Linked DNA regions of Homo sapiens: region 1 is linked to region 2. The links are contacts of gene promoters, found by promoter capture Hi-C in blood cells and fetal thymus (Javierre and others, 2016). All regions are on one chromosome and are shown on one strand. The core of a region is centred on a gene start or on the middle of the fragment in contact, and the rest is flanking DNA. Distances in the headings are between cores, read along the strand shown. Region 1 holds the start of ATG5 (autophagy related 5). Region 2 holds the start of HACE1 (HECT domain and ankyrin repeat containing E3 ubiquitin protein ligase 1).

Region 1 (6,868 bases), core at 1,236-3,735, 1.5 Mb after region 2:
TTTTTTTTTTTTAAAGAGACAGGGTCTTGCTGTCACCCAGGATGGACTACAGTGAAGGATCATGGGTCACTGTAACCTTGAGCTCAAGGGGGTCAAGTGATCCTCCCCTCCCATCTCAGCTTCCCAAGTAGCCAGGACTACAGGCTCATGCCACTATGCCCAGCTAATTTTTTATTTTTTTGTAGAGACAGGGTCTCGTTATGTCGCCCAGGCTGGGGATTCTCTCAAAGATGGTATTACAAGCATGAGCCATCACGCCCGGCCAAGTTATATTCTTTAGTTGCTCAGTCCGTAACCCTTGGAGTCGTCCTTGACCCTTCTTCTACCTGACTGCTCTCAAAAGTCTAGAATCTGGTCATTTCGCACTACCGCCACTATTACTACCCTGATTCAAGTCACCTCGACCTTTAACCTGGATAAATGCAGTCAATGGCCTACTAACAACTCTTATTTCTGCACCTGCTGCATACAGTCAACATAGCAATCAGATCTTTTAAAACACAAGTTAGATCAACTCACTGCTTACTCAAAACCCAACTCATTCAAAGTACAAATTAAGGTTCTTATAAATTCCCACATGCTCCTAAATGACTTGGCCCCATTTCCACCTAAGTATCCACTACTTCTTTCCCTCTTGTTCATTATTTTCCAGTCAAACTAGCTAGTATGCGCCTGCTTCAGGGCTTCAGTGGCAGCTCCTTCCAAGTGGCACCCTTCTTTATCACCCGTAGGCCTCCAAGTTAATATCATCTTTTCTATGGCCACCACTCCCATCTCTTGGCATTCCCTATACCCCTGCACTGCTTTGGTTTTTTTCTCTAGCACTTTCCGCCACTTGACGTACACAGTTGGCCCTTCCTACCCATGGGTTCTTCGTCCTTGTATTCAACCAATCATGGATGAAAAAATATTCGGGGAAGGAAAAAAAAGTCAGTACTGAACATGTATAGACTCTTTTTTGTCATTATTCCCTAAACAATACACCATAACAACTATTTATACAGCATTTAAGTTGTATTGCGCATTATAAATAATGCAGAGTTGAACTAAAGATAGGAGGATGTGCATAGGTTATCTGCAAACACTACACCATTTTATATCAGGGACTTGAGCATTTGAGGACTTTGGTATCCAAGGGAGGTCCTGGAACCAATCTCCCACAGATGCCGAGGGACAGGAAAGACTGTACCTTAATTTTTGTATCAATGTCTTCTCACCCCATCCCCAAAGTGGAACTTCATGATGGCAGGGATTTTTATTCTTTTGTTTACTATTTTGTTTACTGTTTTGTCCAGTGCCTAACACATAGGAGGTACTCAGTTTGGGGGAAATTAATGAAATAAATACACACTTGAGGTGTGTGCACTATTCTAAAAATCCATATCCATACAGTTCCATTCTGTACACTTTCCCCCAATTTTAAGTAGCATATCTTTGAAGATAAAAGCACAGGCTTAAATCTGGTGTAAAATACCTCTCAATTACTACCCTGAGCACAACATCGTTATTTTCAAATTCAAAATTCAACCAGAAACTCCCTCTATGGAAATCACAAATAGTTCAGTTCAGAGCCAAGTATCCAGTTTCAAGGTCTCAGAAATTTAACAAGCCAATTCTGGAAGGCTTTGGAAGTTCAGCTACTGTCTGGTAAGTCTCCGGGTTCTGATTGCTCAAGACAGGCTGTACCTCCTCACCCCTCAGAAAAATCTAGAACCAATAGTTTCCTAGGTTCCTCAAGTTCAGGATAATTTTAAAATAATCCAAAGTACAAATGAAGTATGTAAAAGTGTCTTGCCAACAGAAAATGTCTTTGGTAGCACTAAATATTGTTATTGAGACAGGGAATATCGTAAATAGATAAATTGCTTGGAGGACATACCCACCGAGTTTGGACAGACTCACACTGCACTGTGCAATAAAGGTTTAAATAACTGTGTTCCACAAACAATTCAGGTCCTGAACTGAACTCTAGAGCCTGCGACTAGACTCTCGCTTTCCTACCTTAGTAAGCAACAGACATGTACCCCAAGAGGGACCCCGCAGGCCACACCCGCCAACCGGCCCCAGGGCTCCGGGCCGGCGTCTCGCCAACTCCACCTTGCCCGGAGGAACCACCTTCACCCGCCATCGCGGCCGGGCGGGCGCTCCTCCAGGCAACTACTCACCCCTCCTTCCTACCACACCTACCTGGCCCCTCCCCAGCCCTCCTCCTCTAGGAATTTCCTCACACAAGGTGGACACACACACGTACCCTACTCCAAGCTATGGCTCCTCCTTCCGGCTCCCCGCACTGGTGGGGACGCCCAGATTCCGCGCTCCGGTGGGGCGGCGGGGCAAGCTGCCCGCCTGACACACTGTCCTGCGGGGACGCGGTAGCAGGACTCCAGGAAGCCCGCGCAGCCGCAAAAAGCACCGGCGCGGAGGTCGGAGCTGAACCCTGCTGCACTTCCGCCCTCTGGTATCCAGCGAATACAACCGGCAACGCTGCGGAGCCCTGGCAGCGCACCACAAGTCCAGTCACCCTCGGCGCCCGGAGATGACGTCACGAGACCCCACGTGGTCCGAACTCCGCCCTCCGTGTTCTGCCTAACCCAGCAAGGAGGCCCGAGTCGCTCTTGAGCATGCGCCAACGGGGCAGTACGCTTGAACTCGCGACCAAACCTCTCCAAGTTCATAGCTTCTACCCTCTTCTGAGAATCTTGCGTCAAAGCGTAGTTATTGGGGCTTGGGGAGGTTAACTTAACAGTTCCACAAAAACAGTTTTTAAAATACTGAAACACTGCCTCCCTAGAGCTTGATCGCAACATCCCTTTCTTCCTGGCATCACACAACAGTATTAATAAAACATTAGTTTTCAAAGTACTTTCCCATCCATTTTCTTATTTGATCTTCTTCTCTACTTTGTTGGAACCACCGCAGGCATTAATAACCTAATTTAACAGAAGACTATATGAGCACTGAACCCTCCCACCCATCCAAGAGTACATATCTTTATCTTACTCTTTGTAAAAATAATTGGGGCCGGGCGCGGTGGCTCACGCCTGTAATCCCAGCACCTTGGGAGGCCGAGGCGGGCGGATCACGAGGTCAGGAGATCGAGACCATCATGGCTAACACGGTGAAACCCCGTCTCTACTAAAAATACAAAAAAAATTAGCCGGGCGCGGTGGCGGGCTTCTGTAGTCCCAGCTACTGGAGAGTCTGAGGCAGGAGAATGGCGTGAACCCGGGAGGTGGAGCTTGCAGTGAGCCAAGATAGGGCCACCGCAGTCCCGCCTGGGCGAAAGAGCGAGACTCCGTCTCAAAAAAAAAATAGTAATAATTGGTAAACTTACTAATAAAGAATCTTTGAATTGGCTCTATCCAGAAGTCTTAGCAGGCATTTAAGGTTTTTCTCTTAATTACACGTGCCTTAACGCCATGCATGTTAAGTAAGTACTGTGCTGAGACTCAAAACAGGTTCTTGATAATTGGGAACATAAGGAAAATTCTAGTAGTAGCCACAGGATTCTTTTAAAAAGAAAAATCTTCTTGGAGTTGGACTAAGTACAATGATTTTCAAATGGTAAATTACAGTACATTAGTGGGTATCTAAATCAAGTTAGGGAAGCATGCCCAGCATCTTTTTAAATGAAATAAAATAGAAAATATCAGCATGCTTCACACATGTAAAGGGTAAATATTGTGTCCCAAAATTTTTACTTCAGTATGTATGTGGTGTACACTGGATAGGAATGTGAAATACATTTCTTAGTAAGGGTAGCAGTCAGAAAAGTTTGAAAGCCACAGTTATGGTCCTCTTCACCTACTCAATGCAGAAATCCTCACTACAGTGTCCCCAGTAAACAGCTATTAGCCTCTGTAAGAAAGCTTGTGGGATTAAGGTGCATTGCCTTCCCAGTGTCAGACAAAAGTATATAAAATTTCCTTTAAAATGTATCTAAAAAATAAGATGGATTTAGGGGCGCATAGATGGATAAATATGTGATTAACCAAATATAGTAAAATATAATGGTAGAATATAATGGTAAAATATAATGGTAGAATCTAGATGGTAGAATCTAGGTTCATTGTAAATGGGTATTCACTGTAAAATTTGTTCAGCTTTGCTGTGTGTTCAAAATTATTTCCTAACAAAATGTTGGGACCAGGCACAGTGGCTCATGCCTGTAATCCCAGCACTTTGGGAGGCCCAGGTAAGAGGATAGCTTGAGCCCAGGAGTTCAAGACCAGCCTGCACAACATGGCAAGACCACATCTCTACAAAAAACACAAAAATTAGGAGGGCATGGTGGCATGCGCCTACAGTCCCAGCTACTCCAGTGGTTGAGGAAGGAGGATTACATGAGCCCAGGAGGTCAAGGTTGCAGTGAGCTATGATTGTATCACTGCAGTCTAGGTAACAGAGAGAGACCCTGTCTCAAAAAAAAAAAAAAATTGTTTTGGGGGAAACTATGTATGAAGAAACCCAATAGGTGAAAGGTGATTACTTGATTTGACTTAAAATTCAACTTCCTGTAATTTTTATAAATTGACCATTTTCTTTCTTTCTCCCCTTGTCCTTCTCTCTTCCTCACCCATCTACAACATACAACAGAAATAACTAACTCTTCTTCTAAAAGACAGCATTTCAATATGAAAAGGTAGCTCTTGTGCCCCGTAATGCACTCAGGGATAAACATTGTCATTTCTTTCAGCCATTCTTCACATGCCATATCTCTCCTCTGGATATGGTCCAGTTATCAGCATTCCTATTAAATAGTTGTTACACTTGTTTCTATATGATGATCATGCTCCTTGAGCAAAAATTTGGAAATAAAGGGAATTGTATGTTTCGTCTCTGTCATTTCCATTTGTGAACATTATGCCTTTTCTCCAAATCAGTGGCACTGCAAATTTTTAATTTTTTTTCTATGAAGATAACTTTTAAAGAGCTCTTTTTGTTGGCCTTACCATTTCCTCCAAGTTTTAGCTTATTGGGGGTGACTCTCTGTTGGGAACAAGACCCCCAAAATCTGGCCATAAACTGGCCCCAAAACTGGCCATCAACTAAATCTCTGCAGCACTGTGACGTGTTCACGATGGCCATAAAGCCCACGCTGGAAGGTTGTGGGCTTACCGGAATGAGGGCAAGGAACACCTGGCCCGCCCAGGGCGGAAAACTGCTTAAAGGCATTCTTAAGCCACAAACAATAGCATGAGAGATTTGTGCCTTAAGGACATGCTCCTGATGCAGTTAACTAGCCCAACCTATTCCTTTAATTCGGCCCATCCCTTCATTTCCCGTAAGGGATACTTTTAGTTAATTTAATAGCTATAGAAACAATGCTAATGACTGGCTTGCTGTTAATAAATACGTGGGTAAATCTCTGTTCGGGGCTCTCAGCTCATTTCTGTGTGTGTGTCTTTAATTCCTCTAGCGCCGCTGGGTTAGGGTCTGCCCGACCGAGCTGGTCTCGGCACTCTCAGGCAGCCTTTGACTCGTGCGAACTTGTTTATAAAGTCCTCTTTTCAACAAAAGTCAAGTACACAACTCCTCCCAAATTCTGGTTTCTAAGGAGAGACTCCAAAGAAGTCTTTGTTAATAAATTGCTCTCTTTTCTTTTCACTATAATAGTTTGTAGTTGTAAAGTCTGGCTTTTATTTTTGCACACCTCACAAAGTGCAAGACTCAAAACTGTGGGATCGTAACTTTATTCTAAACTTATTTAAATCTACTTTCCTAAAATGTAAGTTATCTTGACTGCCTCCATGAACCCTAACCATCACTTGTTATCATGCTATTACTTCCTGACCCAAGGTCCCATTCTGCTCTCTTTTATCTCTGTCCTGTTGGTTTCAGAGGAATGATTTAAGCCTAATTTAATTCTTCTATTAATACTTCAGCTCTAACACTTCTGACTGCTCCAACTAATTATCCCATCTCCCAGATTTCCCTTACTACTAGTTTCTTCCTTCATCCTATACATATGCTCAAATGTTCTCCCATCCTATTAAAATGCTTCCTTTAACCTTCATCACTTCTGAACTATTAGGATAGCTTCCCCCCATCTCCCTGCCTCCAGTCCTGCTCTACCTGTCCCAGCATCCAACCAGTGTATGTTATCTAAAATGCATTCTAACAATGTCACTCTTCTGTTTAACACCTTTTATTGATTCCTTCTAGGCAAATTCCAAATTTCTTAGCATGGTAAACAAGGTCTTTTATGGCTAATTTCTTCTTTCCTTCTAGCTTCCTTCCCCTGCTCTCCCTGCCTTGCGCTTCAAAAAATCCAACAGTATCCAATATTTTGTAAGACTTCTGAGCCCTAAGGCTATGCCATGCTTCTATGACTTTGTTGCTGTTGTCCCTGCTGCCCGGAACACTACCCCCACCAGCACCATCACCACATTCTTTCTTCTTCACTTGGCACACATCACTCATTTTTAAGACTCAATTCATGTTTTGGAAAGTATTTCCTGACCCACCCAATTTGGATTTGTTGGTCCTCATACTTTCCTCGGTAATTTTTTGATCACCAATGCCCAGCATAATGCCTGGCATTTATTAAATGTTTGTCAAAGTAACCTAAGCTGAACATGCGCTCTCTTCTAGGATTCCCATCAGTTTCACCTCATAATCTAAATTGTTCCATATAGCTTAGAGTTTAGGTAGAAAGTGGTCGTTTTCTTTGTTACTTCATCGATGTCTGAGGGAGAAAATCAGCAAGTCACGTTGAAAGTAATTGAGATGCACTGCCATTAGCAGAGTGGGTCTCCAGCAGTCACTAGCAGTTAAAGTTTTCCGCCATCACCGTATCCTGTCTCAGTGTCAGTTTTAGGATCTGTACGGGGAAAGGCATCACTTCTTCCATTTGGCTGCACACTCT
Region 2 (6,325 bases), core at 733-3,232:
ACAGAGTGAGACTCCGTCTCAAAAAAAAAAAAAAAAAAGGATGTTTTCTAAACACAAAATAAAAGACTATATGCAACATGATTTTAACTTGTTAGGGAGGGAAAAAGAAATAACAATGGTAACACTGTTTATAACTGGATGGTGAAATGACATATTTTTTTCTATTTTTCTTTATTTTCCAAATTTTCTACAATGAAACTATATTACTTTTAAAACCAAGTAACATTATCAAAGTCTTCTAAATCACATTTATGTAAAAAATATCGGGATTCAAACTAGACAATATAAATTATACATGTAGTCTTCATAAAGCTATACCAATAATTCGACTACGAAAAATAAGTAAGAGTAGCACTTAAGAAATGGATTCAAAGGTGGAAGTTGGAAAGAAAATATAGAAAAAGTTGAAGCTAGAATCTAGTTACCAAAATCTGAATTCTAAATAGAGACTAGAGACCATTTTTTCAAGAAGATTATCCCCAGGCCAGGCGCGGTGGCTCACATCTGTAATCCCAACACTTTGGGGGGAGCAGGGTGCGGATCACTTGAGCCCAGGAGTTCAAGACCAGCCTGGGGAACATAGTGAGACCTCATCTCTATAAAAGAAAGGAAAGAAAATTATCGCCAAAGTACCCAATCCCACATTTCTTTCATGACCGTCTGCCAAGGTCTCCTTCCCTATCCTACAAACCACCCAGCAGCAATTCAAAGAGAGTTTTGAAAAAGTAAGATAAACTACTACAATTAAGAAAAAAGCTATTCACCAGCTACAACCTCCTCCCAACCCTTCTCTCACTTGGGCATAAAGAGCCAAAAGCTTCTTAGAAGCAGCACTGCTGTCTCCCATCACCACTAAAATGTCTGAATTCCTGACGCTGCAAACAAAACTGCTTATTTTCTCTCCTTGTTATTAGCAGAGTTTTACCTGTCCTGAGGGAACCCTGGCACGCTGAACTAAAAGTCCTGATCCTCAGGGACCATGCCTTATTCCTCTTTGCAGATGCGTCCTAGTTACCAGCTAGCCCACTCAATACTAGTCTGATGAATAAATGAAGAATGAAGGCAGGCATGCATATTAAAGAAAAATATATTGTGTTTACCCATACAGTACTTTAAGAGTACCTGTTTGATGTTTGACAACCCTTTGTTTGCCTGTTATCAAAACAAGGCAGTGCCCCACATTTTAAAAAATAACAAAAATAAAAGCCCGCCTGGCCCCCCGATGCAGCTTAAAGTAAACAGTATCTTTGGATCATCTCTATCCCCAGCTACTGTTAAATGACCCGCAATTATGATGTTTTCTGACTCCGGGTCTCGGGCCTCCGGCTGGTATTCCTGCCCCTTTGCCAAGACCCCTAATCGACAGACGTTGCGAGACCTTTGTCTCGCTCCTCCCAGCAGCGGAACCCCCACCAACCCAGTTTCCTCCCGAAAACTCCCACCTGCCGGGGTGGGAGCGTCGGGCCAGGGGAGTTCGGGGCCCGGGGCCGCCTCTCAGCTCTGGAAAGTAAAAGTGGGCGTTTTCTCAGCTTTCAGTTAGTTTTTCCACCCGACCTTGACGCGGCCGGAGCTCCTGCCCCACTGGCCGCCCCCAGCCCCGCGGCCAGCCTGGCCCCGCGACCCGGCTCACCCTCGGGCAACTCCACGGTGCGCGCGCGGCGCAGCGAGCGCGTCAGGCGGTTGAGTTGCTCCATCGCTCTCTCCATCCTCGGCGCGCCCTCCGCGATCCTCCGCGATCAGCCGCCCCACCGGCGGCCTCCGCGCCCAGAGCCCTACATCTCGCCTGGGCCCGTCCAGCAGGCGGAGACGCGGGCTTGCCCCGGCTAGAGCACTGAGCTGCGAGGGCTGCCTGGGGCCACGTCCTGCGTCCGGGGGCCGGGCTGCTGCCGGACCGACCACCTACAGTACACCCGCCGCCGCCTCTGCTCGCGCCTTTCCTGCAGCCCCCGCCGCCGCGTCCCTCCCGGGCTCGCGTGGCCTTCTGGGAACTGTAGTTTCCAGCTGGCAGAACGGAGCGCCCTGGGCGGAGTCACGTTGGGGGCGCCCAGGCCACGCCAACGCGGGCGCAGGGCTGAGTATGCGGGAAGCCACGCAGCGACTGGGCGTACTCCTAAGCTTCTGGAAAGGCATTCTCACGCCCTGCTCCTCCTACCCTCCTCCAAAGTTGTACAGGAGCAGTTTCCTCCAATTCTATAACTTTACTATAAAACAGATTAGAAATTGGCACAATTGTTCTTAAATCCGTCACCACCTTTCTAGTACTGTATTAGTGCCTTTGTTTCAGGTACCCTACATGAACTGTTTTAAGTATGGTATTTTCATATGTCAAACTTAAAGAGTAATAAAATCAAACAAATCCAAAAGCATATTGTGCTTTTGTCTTCATTGTAAATAACTTGACAATAGCTTAATTAGTTGTTTTTCCTGCCGGGCGGCTTTATGAGGGCAGGGACATTTAATCTTGAACTGTGTTGTATCCCTGTACTTAACAAGGCACCTAGCACAAAGTTAAAGCTCTGGGGAAGATATGAATGATGACAACCTGAAAAAATTTTTTCATTTATTTGGTACAATGCTAAAGTGTCTATGTGATGACACAGCCTAGTGGGAAATCCAAAGGATTTGACTTTGTAAGTTACAAAAAATTTGGATACCTACATTGTGGAAGAAATGAACTCAGTGGCGAAAAATCATATTCATAAGCTCTGCACAGAAGTTGAACACTTGAAACAACAGAAGTTGGAACTTCAAAAAATTAACCCAATCAAAGGGGTAAATGTGAGCCTGGCTAACACCAATATATCTTGGATATATTACCAGTGCCAAGATGATGCTGGAGTGAGGGAGAAACAAAAGGCTTGTCTTTTTCAGCTTCTCTTCCTCAAAGAGACAAAGCTGTTCCTGAAATGAATGGGCACATGTACGTTGATGATGTATGTTGGCTGGCCAAGTGAAAGAGAGTCTCACCTGCCCATTCAGGATATGAAGGGGCAGATGGTGGTTGGCATGTGTTTTCCCTGCCAGTGCCGTCCTAAATCAGTTCCAGCTAGTGACCATTTGTGCCAGTGGTGCCACAGGCACGGGGAAGACCTCTGTAATCTTCACCTAATCAGATGATACCTAAACCAGTCTGGCAACAAGGTGGTAGAGGTCAAAGTTTCAAAAGAATACCAGAGGCTGGGCGCAGTGGCTCATGCCTGTAATCCCAGCACTTTGTGAGGCCAAGGCAGGCGGATCACTTGAGGTCAGGAGTTTGAGACCAGCCTGGCCAACATGGTAAAACCCTGTCTCTACTAAAAATATGTATATACAAAAATTAGCCGGGCGTGGTGGTGTGCCTCTGAAATCCCAGCTACTCGGGAGGCTTAGGCAGGAGAATCGCTTGAACCCGAGAGACAGAGGCTGCAGTGAGCTGAGATCCTGCCATTGCACTCCAGCCTGGGTGACAGAGCGAGACCCTGTCTCAAAAAAAAAGGAAAGGAAGAAAGAAATACCAGACGTTATGGACCAGTCTAGCCCAGGCTCAACCATTTGCAACCTGGCTTCAACTAAAAATGTTCCAGTCTTGCTTGGCCTCTTATGCTATTCAAAAAGTCAGGATTCCCACTGCTGTACAGAAGTTGGCCCCTCAGCTTCTCTCAGCTGCTGTTATCACCATTGCTCTCTAGGCTGTTGCTCCATATAAATTACCTCCAACGTCCTGTGAGGACCAAGCCTGGAGTTTGTGGGCAGGGGTAGGAGCCCCCAGCAGCCTCCATGGTGGGCATTGCATCTCATGCTGGTCACTGTTCACCACAGGAGCAGAAGATAATGGAACAGGTAATGCTGATGTGAATTGTCAGTTCCAAATTCTGCAATATGATGCCGTCTCCCAATAGCTCTGCTTCAAAATGTATAAAGCTGCAGTACTACTATCAGCTTATCACCTCCTGTCCAACAGAACTTTCTGCAATGATAGAAATATTCTATAATCTGCAATGTCCAAAATAGCATCCACTAACCAAATGGGGTTACTGGGTGCTTGAAATGTGGCTGGTGCAACTGAATTTTAAATTTGTATTAAAGTATAAGTAATGAAACTAATTAAGTTAAATAGCTGTATGTGCCTTGTGGTTACCGTATTAGACAGGGCAACTTATCACACCAAGAAGAAAGCTGCCCAGGAGAACACCAAAACAGCTAAACAGCTTCTTATAGATTATTATTAGCTAAAGAGTAGATTTTCTCACCTGTCACCAACACCAAAAACATCAAGTGGAAGTTTCAAAAGGGCACTTTGTATCATAAGTTCCATTAACAAAAGCGTAGAGTTTTTCACTAATGATAACCCAGGTTCTTCTGTGGCCCAGACAGTTTCAACTTTCTTTTTTGTATATCTGGTATTTTTTTCTTCCTGGAAATTGGTTTTATTGAAGATTCCCAAGCATTAAGGGAAAGAGAAGAGAAAAACAATCTGTTCAACAAAAGGCAGGAAATGGGTGGGAAGCAAAGAAAAATGGTCATAAAAACAAAACATAAAGTAGCAGTAGAAATAAATCTAAATATATCCATGGTCACAGAAAATATAAACAGAGTAAACTCAATGTTTACTCTAAAACATAGAGGTCTTAGATAGTGTGTTAAAGAAAAATAAAAATGGAGGCCACAGTTTAGATATACCCAAGTCCAACTGTGTATAACCACAAACCAAAACTCATCATCCTCATTTCCCCAAAACACCATCTGTAATAATAAACACAAAACGCAAGGTTTATATCCTTGTCAGCATGATTCAGTGAAACTAAGCCAATCAGCTATAGACAAATCAGCTTAAATAGTTTCCCTAAAAAAATTAATGTATAACAGACAATCATGAAAAAAGGCCAAAGTACTTCATCTTTACGCTTTATAAACTGTACGGGAAATGCAGTAAGGCAAGCTTCTCAACACTGACTCAAAATATCCTGGATCGCAATTTGTACTTGATCTGATTTATTTCTTACATCTGAAAAGATCAAATAAAACAGCTATTTGCTGTTTCTAAGGGACCACCATTTCCAAAAGGAAATGGAAAAAAGGGATACCATAGAAAATATTAGCCAAATAAATGTGATATAAAAATATATCAGGGTTCTCTAGAGAAACAGAACCAGTAGAATGTGTGTATATATATGGAGAGAGAAAGAGATTTATTATCAGAAATTGACTCACGTGATTATGGAAGCTAGCAAATCCAAAATCTACAGTTTGGACCAGCGGTCTCAATACCCAAGAGACCTGATGATGCCATTCCAGTCAAAGGCCAGGGCAGCTAGTAAGACAGATGAAGTCTGGAGGCAGTCTGCTGAAAAATTCCCTCTTGCTGTTTCTTCTATTCAGGCCTTCAGCTGATTGGATGAAGCCCACCCATATTATGGAGAGCAATCTGCTTTAACCAATTTAAATGTTCATCTCTTCCAAAAACACCCTCCAAGTTGGCACAGAAAATTAACTATCATGAACAATATTAATATCAGCAAAATAAATTTTAAAGGAAAAAACATTATTAGAGTCAAAGAGAGTTACCAGAAAGTTTATACTAGTCCTGAACCTACACCTAAAGACATAGACTAAAAATAAAGCTACACTTGACAGAATTACAAGTATAAGTTCCACACCATGGTGCTAGATTTTTCACACCCTTCGCTCTGAAACGAATAAAGCTAGCAGAAAAAGACAGTTAAAGATACAGAAGATTAAAAAACTTCAACTACAAGTCTCATTAAAGGGCACGTGTGAACATTCACTTCACTACTAATGAAGAGGGAATACACATCCTTTTAAAGCACATATATTACAGTTACAAAAATACAACGCATCCGAGTGCCCTTCTTCAGAGCAGTGTCACTGAGGTGGCAACTAGGAAGACCATGGCCAAAGCCAGGGTAGGGTAGGTTGAAAATCCCAAGAAATGGAGTGGACAGAGGAAGCTATCAAAGGAAAAACAAAGCAGACTGTAGGTCTGGAAGTAGAGGCAGGAAATGCAGGGGACACATAAGCCAGTAGAAGGGACTTTGGAGTTAGCAATGAGAGGCAGCCACGGGTCTCACTAAACTACACTTTCATCCAGTACCCATGCTACAGAATTTCTTAATCAAAGTGAAGGATCCTACATTTGTCCTGCTGGATTTCATCTTGATTAGTTTTTGTTGTTGTTGTTGTTATTGTTGTCGTTTTGAGATAGGGTCTTGCTCTGTTGCCCAGGCTGGAGTGCAGTGGTATGATCTCCACTCACTGCAACCCCTACTGCAACCTCCGCCTCCTGGGTTCAAGCAATTCTTGTGCCTCAGCCTCCGAGTAGCTGGGA

What was found. The method cuts DNA at HindIII sites, captures the fragments that hold promoters and counts their contacts. A CHiCAGO score of 5 or more calls a contact.
Region 1: the fragment with the promoter of ATG5 here is called in contact with the fragment with the promoter of HACE1 in region 2 in 4 of 17 cell types (naive CD4 T cells, monocytes, non-activated CD4 T cells and 1 more); the score reaches 7.4 in naive CD4 T cells.

The regions. Positions count from the first base shown.
Region 1 is chr6:106,323,275-106,330,142 of GRCh38, forward strand. It overlaps ATG5 (autophagy related 5), which reads right to left and starts at 2,486. Exons shown (of 8, transcript NM_004849.4): 1 at 2,252-2,486. RefSeq lists enhancers at 1-147, 148-648, 2,296-2,345, 2,366-2,685. The HindIII fragment of the contact is 6,577 bases long and covers 1-3,867 here.
Region 2 is chr6:104,857,937-104,864,261 of GRCh38, forward strand. HACE1 (HECT domain and ankyrin repeat containing E3 ubiquitin protein ligase 1) reads right to left here and starts at 1,983. Exons shown (of 24, transcript NM_020771.4): 1 at 1,631-1,983. The coding sequence starts at 1,706. It also overlaps the pseudogene LOC100422315. RefSeq lists a silencer at 1,412-2,041 and enhancers at 1,664-2,163, 1,778-2,072. The HindIII fragment of the contact is 1,298 bases long and covers 816-2,113 here.